Linked DNA regions of Homo sapiens: all the other regions are linked to region 1. The links are contacts of gene promoters, found by promoter capture Hi-C in blood cells and fetal thymus (Javierre and others, 2016). All regions are on one chromosome and are shown on one strand. Each heading gives the region's core, a stretch centred on a gene start or on the middle of the fragment in contact. The rest is flanking DNA. Distances are from core to core; before and after follow the strand shown.

Region 1 (3,505 bases), core at 561-3,060:
CTAGAAAAAAACTTTCAAAGACACAGGTCTTCTCATTAATCTCCATAATCACAGAGGTCTTGCCTAAAAGGGCCCCCCTTGAGTACACAGCTCTGAAACTGGCTAACATCTTCTGCTGTCTCATTTGATTTTAAAGTTCACATTTGTGAAGGGCTCTATTGTACAACATGGTGACTATAGTTAATAACAGTGAATTTCAGTTAATAACCTGAATTTCACTGAGAGTAGGTCTGAAGTGTTCTCATCACAAAATGAGTGTATTAGCATCGCTCATAGCTCATTTAGCCATTACACAATGTATACACATTTCAAACCATATTGTATACCATAAATACATACAATTCTTATTGGTTAATTTTAAAAATAATAAAAGTTCTCTATCAGTCCCATAAATTACAATTTTCAGGCATCTGCAAAGGCAGCATGTTTTGGTTTAAATGTGGTCTTTCCAAATTTTATACGTATAAAATAAATGCATAAGTGTACTACATATGCAAAAACTAATACATAAATTTTATAAAGTCAATGCACGCGGGGTCACTGGGATGAACCAATTTCAGTGCCTGCAGTCTAATGTTTAAAATCAAAATGGTACAAGGTCACCACCAAAGAAATTGTTTAAGCCAATGTTTCTCAAACTAAAACCTTTGGACATACTCCCAGAATCCCCTGTAAAGAAATGTATACTGTACTCAAAGTTGAGAACCACTGACTTAGCATAAAGGGACCGTATTTCTTTTCTCTCCCACCCAGCACAGGCCCAGTGCTCAGCAGAAATTGGGGCTCCACAGTTCTGCCCAACACTGGGTCACTGCTGAGAAGTCTGCACCAGGCCTTCCTGCACCTTTCCACTGAGCAATGGAGTTTGTTTATTCATTTATTTATTTATATGGAATTTATTTATTTATTTTGGAGACAGGGTCTCACTCTGTCACCCAGGCTGGAGTGCAGTAGCGCAATCCAGGTTCACTGCAGCCCTAAACTCCTTGGGCTCAACTGATCCTCCCACCTCAGATACCCGAGTAGTTGGGACTACAAGCACGCACCACCACGCCTGGATAATTTTTTTTAAATGTTTTGTAGAGATGGGGTCTCCCGATGTTGCCCAGGCTGGTCTCGAACTCCTGGGCTCAAGAGATCCTCCCGCCTGCGCCTCCCACGGTGTGAGCCACCTTTGATCTTATTGCTATGATTTTTTTATTGATAAAAACTAATAAATATTCTGAGTCTCAAGAAAGCTTTCTGAAACTATCAAAGGGACCCAGGCGGCGCATCACTACCTGTGAGGCCGACCCCACTCACAGCACAGACTGCAAGTGAGGCTTACAGATGGGAAGTGCCCTAAGCGAGGTTAAACAGCTAGTTAGCAGCAGACACGGAACTAGAACCTAAGCCTGCTGTCCCAGCTTCGGTGCCCGTGCTCACAGCGGAAGCTGCCTCGGCTCATCCGTAAGGGCGCTGATTAGGGACGACAAAGACCTCACCCCACCGTCCCCGTCCCATTTCCGCCCTCCCAGATCCCCAACCTCCTTCGAGTCCTCTCCAAGTCGCCTCGCCTCGCTCCACTCCAGGCCTTAGCAAGCATTCCACATGCCTTTACCCCAACCCTACTGCCTGTCCCCCAAAAGATGCAGGCGGAAAAGACCCCAGGAAGCGAGCCCACTCCTCCCCACTGCTCAGCAACACCGCCTACGACGTTCTCAGTAGCCGAATCCCTTTCCAGGCGCATGCGCCCCCGAGGTGGGCGAGCGCCGGTGATGTCACGCATAGCGCCATCTCCGAGCTCCGAGAGTCTGCGACAGCAGCTGCCAGTGCGTCATCAGAGAGCGCCGGAAGCGGTCCGAGAATGAAGAGTAAGCGGGGCCGCGAAGTTGGAGAGGGTTGGGGACGTTAAGGGTCGGGGTCTTGGTACTGGTGGGTGAAATGGGTCCGGGCTACCTGTTGCTGCGGAGTCCTAACAGAACCGCTACAGGAATGGGCCCACCCTACCTAAGAAAAACTGAGGGCTGGAGCACGGGTTAGCCTGGCTCGACCTCTGAGCTAGGGAGGGATGTCAGGGCTGGAGGCAGGTTCTCCCGGAGGCTGCTCAGTGGTGTGCGATGCTAGAGGAGGGTTCCAGGCCTTGGCTCAACTTGGCCACTATCTCCCGGGGTGACCGCGGTCAAGATCCTGCTCCTTTCTGCGAGCTGGTTTCACACTCTTAACCTGATGCAAAGCGCCGAGAGCTGCTGGGGAATGATATCACTAACCCAAAGCTTTGGTCCTTAGGGGTAGAAGACATGTGCCAAGGAGGGGCGTGTAGACACCGTTAAGACTGGGCCTTCAATCAGAATTTTTATTTTTCATCTCTGCCACTTTCTACCTATATGATCAAGTAGATTGTCTCGGCATGTCTGAGCTTCAGTTTGCTCATGCACATAAGTGTAATGAGAAAAAATATGTGTACCTTGTAATGAGGTTTCTGGCAAGTAATGGATGTTCAGTAATTGTTAGATGTGTATTGTTGCAGAAAGACTTCCAAGTCTGTTACTAAGCACCTGTAACAGATGAAGCAAAGTTATCAGGCCCCGCAAGTTGCTCTCTACAGTTTATAATCCCCATCTTCCATTTGAGGGAGAACTAGATGCTATATATAAAACTTGCAACCACATTGGTTTGCTTGATCAAACAAACATACCTGGCTGGGTGTGGTGGGACACGCCTGTGGTCCCAGCACTTTGGGAGGCTGAGGCAGGGGGATCACTTGAGGCCAAGAGTTGAAGACCAACTTGGGCAACAACATAGCGAGACCCTGTCTCTACAAAAACTGGAAAAAAAAAAAAAGAATTAGCCAGGTGTGGTGGCACACACCTGTAGTCTCAGCTACTCAGGAGACTGAGGTGGGAGGATCACTTGAAACCAGGAGGTCGAAGTTGCAGTGAGCTATGATTGTGCCACTGCACTCCAGCCAGGGCAACAGAGCAAAACCCAGTATCAAAACAAACAAACAAACAACAAAAAAAAAAAACTTGTAACCACCTTGCATCAAACATTCTCAGGGAAGTACAAGAAAGCTGGAATTAAATTTACAGAGTATAGTGTAAATTACATTTTCTAGCTATTTAGCTCATAAACCAGGCCTTAGTAGTCCCATTCTTATTCCATTCACACCTGTACTCTGTCCCCAGTGCCATGGTTTTCTTCTTTCAAAAAATTAAGAAACAGAAGTGTGGAATTTATTTTAGAGGTTGAAACTTTATTGACCAATGTATATTTTGAGTTTAAAGGAAAAACTTGTATTTTATCAGTTCAGGACACCATCGATTATGTGACACATTATAATTTCATATTAAAATGTGAAGAATCTTTTTAAACATCTTACAGTTAACAAAACCTATTTCTAACCATCTACATCCTAGACAGCTATATCATATAACTTTTAATGAGTTACCTTGTTAGCAAGTGCTCAAGCTTCTAACTTGGGGTATTTTAAACCAATGCAACTCAAAATGTGATTCACTGACCT
Region 2 (3,505 bases), core at 327-2,826, 160 kb after region 1:
AAAGTGCTGGGATTACAGGTGTAAGCCACTTTGTAAAAATAAAAATTAGATCCCTCACACAGAGTCCAGGGAGGGAGAGTTCCGTGGGCTGGGAGCTGAGAGGTGGGGAGATGGGCTCTCTGCACCCACACTTCCCTGCTGTGTGGCCCCAGGCAGGTTACTTCATCTCTCTGTGCCTTGGTTTCACCTCCTCCTGTAAGATGCGGCACTGGGACTGCCTCTCAGGAGAGTCCCGCAGAGCAGTCTGGGGAGGTGCTTGGCATGGCTGCCGGCACCTGCTCACCGTCATCACACGGGGACTTAGTCTTAAGAAAAGGGGACTGGAGGTCGGGCACGGTGGCTCACACCTATAATCCCAGCACTTTGGGAGGCGGAGGCAGGTGGATCACCTGAGGTCAGGAGTTTGAGACCAACCTGGCCAACATGGTGAAACCTGTCTCTCCTAAAAATACAAAAATTAGCTGGGTGTGGTGGTGCATGCCTGTAATCCCAGCTACTCAGGAGGCTGAAGCTGTAGAATCGCTTGAACCCAGGAGGCAGAGGTTGCAATGAGCCGAGATCCAGCTACTGCACTTCAGGCTGGGCAACAGACCGAGACTCTATCTCAAGGAAAAAAAAAAAAAGAAAGAAAGAAAAGAAAGGAAAAAAGAAAAGGGGATTGGAAGCTTACAGCCGGAAGGGGAGGCACAGGCTGGGTGAAGTGGGCCAGGTGTCACCAGGAGACAGGGCAAGGGCTTCAGAGCGGGAGATGGGGCTGCGCTTCAGAACCCTGGGCTCTCTTGGGCAGTGGGGGCCTCACACCACAATCCCCAGCACTGGCCCCAAACAGGCGGCTTCTATTTCTTTCTGCTTTTTTAGAGAAGGAAAACTCATCCTGCTTCAGTATGCAGCAGCCAATAAAAACACGTTAATCTTTAACGTGTTAGCAAAACAGCCTCCAATTTGAATATCGGCTCTTCCTCCCATCTGTGGCAGTTTGCACAGATTTTTTTTTAGAGTGGCAGAATGCCTCATCTATGCACCAGCCGGTGGCAGGCGCCATTCACTGCCACAGAGCCTCCCCCAGGGCCGTGAAGGGCCCCCATCCCAGACCATGGCATGGAGTCCCGGCAGAGGGGCTCATCTAAGCTCTACCTTAGCACAAGAGGGCCCCAGATTTGAGGATTTTGCAGATCAGTAAAATTACACCCAAACCAACTGGGAAGGAACATAGGGATACCAGCTCATGATTTTGCCCAGGAAAGCCATTTGAGAGAAAAAATAGATGGTCATCCAAGAACCTCTTCAATTCACTGGAGAAATAAAATTTTGACATCAAAAGGGGGAGGCAGACAGAATGAAAGAATAACAGGTCTTCAAACTGAGCAAATTTAGGGAGACCTACCGTGTTGACTTTATTTTTATCATTTGGACGTTTAAAATAACCCTGGGGGGGTCAGGCATGGTGGCTCACACCTGTAGTCCCCACACTTTGGGAGGCCAAGGTGGGAGGATCACTTGAGGCCAGGAGTTCAAGACCAGCCTGAGCAACATAGCAAGACCCCCCCCCCCCGTCTCTAAAAGAAATTTTTATTTATTCATTTTTAATTAATTTATTTTATTATTAGTTGTTTTTTTCTGGAGACACAGTTTCACCCTGTCGCCCAGGCTGGAGTTCAATGGCATCATCTCAGCTCACTGCAACCTCCTTCTCCCGGGTTCAAATAATTCTTGTGCCTCAGCCTCATGAGTAGCTGGGATTACAGGTGCCCGCCACCACGCCTGGCTAATTTTTGTATTTTTAGTAGAGATGGGGTTGGCCAGGCTGGTCTTGAACTCCTGGCCTCAGATGATCTGCCTGCCTCAGCCTCCCAAAGTGCTGGGATTACAGGCGTGAGCCACCGTGCCTGGCCTCTAAAAGAAATTTTTAGATTAAAAAAAGAAGAAGAAGAAGAAAGCCCTGGGGAATCTGCAGACCTACCCAAGGGGGACAGTGAGTTTAGTATGCTAGGAGTGCCCAGCTAGATCCCCAGCCCGAGCTATTCTGGGCTCGCCTGCCCCCAGCCTGCTGCCCCCTCAAGAGAACCGTGACCAGAAACTTAGTCCTTGGGAAATATGCGCTACTGCAGAACTTGTCAAATGGCAAAGAATCAAGGAAGGAATAAATAGCAATATTTTATAAGTTTTAAAATGCTATTTTAACACAAATACCAGAGCAACTATAGCATAAATCAACAGAGACACCCAAAAGTATGTTTGTACAAGAAATGTAATAAGCTGGTATGAAAAACAGTGTCAACTGGTACAGATGGCAGAAAAAGCCAATATTCAAATGTATGCTGTTTTACTAACACATTAAAGATCAACATTTTGGTACCTGCTGCTCACGATAGCAGGATTAAAAAAACACACAACACACACATATCCTCACGCGTGATATTCTAACCCAGAGAATGCAAGATTCTTAAAGAAATTGTCAAGCACTTTCTATACTTCATCTGGTGGTTTTAAAGCTTCCGTGGTTCAGAGGAAAATTTGCATCTGAAAATGCGGCTTTTCCCCTAGCTGCCTGATGTTGGAGAAAATTAGAAAAGCAGGATGAGAAAATATCAGGGTTGTAGTCCTTAGAAGTCTCCTTCCAGATTAGTAATGGGAACAGAATTATCCCAAGTGAATGACTCTGGTGGTGCCTCTCCTCTCTGAGTACAGGACAGGCTATTTTTGTTTGTTTGTTTGTTTGTTTGTTTGTTTTTGAGACAGAGTTTCACTCTGTCACCCAGGCTGGAGTTCAGTGGCGCGATCTTGGCTCACCGCAACCTCTGCCTGTCAGGTTCAAGCGATTCTCCTGCCTCAGCCACCTGAGTAGCTGAGATTACAGGCGTGCGCCACCACACCTGCCTAATTTTGTATTTTTTTAGTGGAGACGGGATTTCACCATGTTGGCCAGGCTGGTCTCAAACTCCCGACCTCAAGTGATCCACCCATTTCGGCCTCCCAAAGTGCTAAGATTACACGCATGAACCATCATGCCCTGCCAGCACGGGCTATTTTTAAGATGCTTTCAGGCATTGCAGCTCTGGGGGCCCAAAAGAGCCCTCTGAGGTGTGCAGGCCAGGGAGCACTACCCGTACACTACAAATGGGCAAACTGAGGCTCAGACGTGGTGTACAGCTGACCAGAGATCACAGGGCCTAAAGGAAGCGTGATGGGCGTGCAGACCAGGCACACAATTGAGCAAAAAGCCCCCAGGAAACTCTCAACTGCCTCTTGTGGTGTCACCTCGTAAGCCCATGGGCCTGGGAATTGGGCAGCCCGAGTTCCAATCTTCACTCCCACCAGGCCCGACCTTAGGCAAGTGACCTCACCTCTGAGCCCCTACTGAGACACAAGATCGACAAAAACCTCCCCACAGCGCTGGCATGAGGATCGAAGGAGATGCAGTGGGTGAGCGTGGCCAGTGTGCATGGCAACTGTGATGTCATGCTCTGTCCAGAACAGAGACAGCCAGCCGCAGATGCTTTACTTG
Region 3 (3,505 bases), core at 661-3,160, 140 kb after region 1:
AGGCCAAGATGGGTGGATCACCTGAGGTCAGGAGTTCGAGACCAGCCTGGTCAACATGGTGAAACCCCATCTCTACTAAAAATACAAAAATTAGTCGGGTCTGATGGCAGGCGCCTGTAATCACAGCTACTTGGGAGGCTGAGGCACGAGAATCACTTGAACCCGGGAAGTGGAGGTTGCAGTGAGCTGAGATAGTGCCACTGTACTCCCACTGGGGCAACAGAGTGAGACTCCGTCGAAGAAAGAAAAAAAAAAGAAAAGAAAAAAGAAAAAAGAGATGCTGGGCAGGAGAAAAGCCTCCCTTGAGGGAAAAGAGAAGGAAAGGACCAACTGCCTTGGCCCATTCAGTGATCTGGCCATGAAACCAGGGGCTGGCTGAAATGTCATTGTCCAAGAAAAGGTGCTGGCTGTGCACAGTAGCTCATACCTGTAATCTCTGCACTTTGGGAGGTTGAGGCAGGCAGATTGCTTAAGCCCAGGAGTTTGAGACAAGTCTGGGCAACATAGCAAGACTCTGTCTCTACAAAAAATAAAAAAAAGTAGCTGGGTGTGATGGTGCACACCTGTTGTCTCAGCTACTCCAAAGGCTGGGGTAGGAAGATCACTCAAGCCCAGGATATTGAGACTGCAGTGAGCTATGATTGCACCACTGCACTCCAGCCTGGGCAACAGAACAAGACCCTGACTCTTAAAAAAAATTTTTTTTAAAAAAGAGAGGTGCTGGTGACCATGATAGACAGCGATTCAGAGCAGAGAGAGAGGAGGCCCAAATAGCTTAGTCCTGTCCACAGTGGCAGAGGAAATGGGAGAATTAAGGCAATTTCAATGAAAACAACAATTTTAAAAAAAATGCCCCACCCAATGCTTATACCTCAATTATCTAGATTTGCTCAAGCAGGAATTATCAGAATAACTTAGGAAAAGCTTCTTTTGGGAGTAAGGACAAGAGGGCAATCGTGGCCAGGCACGGCAGCTCATGCCTGTAATCCTAGTACTTTGGGAGGCTAAGGTGGGTGGATCACTTGAGATCCAATCATTTGAGATGAGGAGTTCAAGACCAGCCTGGGCAATAGGGTGAGACACTGTCTCTACTAAAAATACAAACAATTCTCCAGGCATGGTGGCACATGCCTGTAGTTCCAGCTACTGGGGAGCCTGAGGCACGAGAATCACTTGAATCTAAGAGCCTAGATGGTGCCACTGCACTCCAGCTTGGGTGACAGAGCAAGATCTGTCTCAAACAAACAAACAAACAAAAAAAACCAAAGGATGACTGACCTGTGTCAACATCCAGAGTTCCCATCTCAGCTATGTGCACAGGAAGGGCCAGTCTTTCTCCTTTACTCTCATTCACTCTACAGATGCCTACCGGGTACCTGCCAGGTGGGCCAGGCCCTGTTCTCACCACTGCTCTGAATGGTCACCACAGAGAATGGTCTCCCTCCTCTCAGGGAGCCCATGTTCTGCTTGGGGAAGGCAGCCAACAAGATCTAAAGCGTCGCTGAGTGACAGGGACATGTCCTGTGAAATGCATGGAGAGGTGATGTTGTCATTGTGTGGACGTCACAGAGTGCACTACACAAACCTGGATGGGGTTGCCTACTGCACATCTAGACTGCATGGTGTGGCCTGTGGCTCCTAGACCACAGACCCAGACAGCACGTTACTGCGCTGAATGCCGCAGGCAGCTGGAACCCAGTGGTTAAGTATCTGTGTACCTAAACAAATCTCAACTTAGAAAAGGTACAGTAAAAATATAGTATTATCATTGATGGGACCACTGTCACCACTGCACACTGCCTTTGACCCAAACATTATTCGGTGCATGGCCATCGATGATGGAGATTGCGATTCGTGTACTGGAGAAAATAAAGCGAGGTGGGCTGAGAGTGGGAGGCCCGCAGGGCAGGGCACTTTGGATCAGGTTGTCAGGAAATGCCTCCCCGAAGAGGGCGCATTTGCAATTAAAGCCAAGTGACAAGAAAAAACTGCCATGCACAGATCTGGGGTCTAGAGGGTGGGGCAGGAGGGACAACAAGAGCAAAGGCACTGGGGACGGAAGGGCTTCATGGGCAGTGGGAGCCCCACGGGAGCCCCCTAGGTCTGGCTTGCAAGCTCTCTGGCCCTCTGCTGGACACCCCAGAGCAAGCCAGCCCCTGCCTGGGACTCCCTGAACACACTGCCCCCAGAGAACCACAGGCAGAGGGACTGGCTCACCTGAGTTCCACAGGAAAGACAGACTGTCCTGAGAACAGACACTCGCTCATTTTCATCACTGTTCCTCAAACAAGTAGATTTTGTTTTAAAGCAAACAAATAAACAGCGTTGTCAAGTTGGTCAAGTTTGTTGTTTCTTACCCAAACTTCCCCTTTAAATCTTCGGCAGGACAGAGGAGGACCCTGGGCTTCTTGTCAATTCTCTGACTTCAAGGAAGAGTCTGATCAACCCAGGCTCACTCGCAGGCTTGAAAGGGGCCTCTAGCGAGGCCAGGGTGGGAGCAGAGACCGTAACAAGGCCTTTTTTTGTTGTTGTTTTTTGAGGCAGCATCTCACTCCGTCACCCAGGCTCAAGTGCAGTGGCACAGTCTCGGCTCACTGCAACCTCCGCCTCCCAGGTTCAAGAGATTCTCTTGCCTCAGCCTCCTGAGTAGGTGGGACTACAGGCCCATGCCACCACACCTGGCTGATTTTTGTATTTTTAGTAGAGACGGAGTTTCACCACGTTGGCCAGGCTGCTCTCAATCTCCTCACCTCAAGTGATCCACCCACCTCGGCCCCCCAAGGTCCTGGGATTATAGGCGTGAGCCACCGCGCCTGGCCATGTATCTTTTTTGTTATTTGTAATTGTCACTTGTCTAGTGTTTTGGTGCGCACATTTACAGAACGAAGCCTGCTGAAAAGCTTTAAAGTACAGCACACTAATGATTCCTGAGATATAGGTATAGGTCTCTCTCTCTCCCCGTTTGTCTGTCTGTCTATCTATCTATCTATCTATCTATCTATCTATCTATCATCTATCTATCTAATCTGTCATCGAGAGAGTGATTGTAGATAGAGGCACAGATACAGATACAGAAACTGGAAGCTATTTTCTGAAAATAGAGTGGCATCCACCACTGTGGTCCATGGTGATGCAGCCCTGCGGGTGGGTCTGGGGACATTAGCAGGCAGGGCAGGAAGAGTCTGGGAGCCAGGGAGCCTTCCCCAGACCTCTAGCATCCACCCCCAGGCTTTTCCACTGCACTGTCGACACTGAAGGTCAAGTTATGCCCCAGACTCCTACTGCTGGAGGGGCTTGGGCCATATTCCCAGGGCCAGTGAGGCCAGGAAGCCAGTACTTCCGTTAGCTAAGAAGTCACCAGGCACAGGACCCCAAGGCTCAGGGGCACTCGCCAGTGATGGCTGCAGGGAAGGTAGGAGACGCACAGCAGCAGGCCACTGGGCCGGGCTCCTATACCACCTGGAGGAGATGTGACAGCCTCACTTCCAGGAGCCTGGCCCTGGCC

What was found. The method cuts DNA at HindIII sites, captures the fragments that hold promoters and counts their contacts. A CHiCAGO score of 5 or more calls a contact.
Region 2: a contact is called between a fragment that was not itself captured here and the fragment with the promoter of POP4 in region 1, in 2 of 17 cell types (naive CD8 T cells and naive CD4 T cells). The highest score is 7.0, in naive CD8 T cells.
Region 3: a contact is called between a fragment that was not itself captured here and the fragment with the promoter of POP4 in region 1, in 2 of 17 cell types (total B cells and naive CD4 T cells). The highest score is 5.8, in total B cells.

The regions. Positions count from the first base shown.
Region 1 is chr19:29,604,473-29,607,977 of GRCh38, forward strand. POP4 (POP4 ribonuclease P/MRP subunit) reads left to right here and starts at 1,811. Exons shown (of 7, transcript NM_006627.3): 1 at 1,811-1,853. The coding sequence starts at 1,847. RefSeq lists an enhancer at 1,464-1,953. The HindIII fragment of the contact is 1,017 bases long and covers 1,237-2,253 here.
Region 2 is chr19:29,761,077-29,764,581 of GRCh38, forward strand. No RefSeq gene overlaps it. Among named protein-coding and RNA genes, the nearest start is that of C19orf12, 48 kb to the left of the region's middle. The HindIII fragment of the contact is 1,827 bases long and covers 664-2,490 here.
Region 3 is chr19:29,743,357-29,746,861 of GRCh38, forward strand. No RefSeq gene overlaps it. Among named protein-coding and RNA genes, the nearest start is that of C19orf12, 30 kb to the left of the region's middle. RefSeq lists enhancers at 1,548-2,049, 2,050-2,549. The HindIII fragment of the contact is 1,976 bases long and covers 923-2,898 here.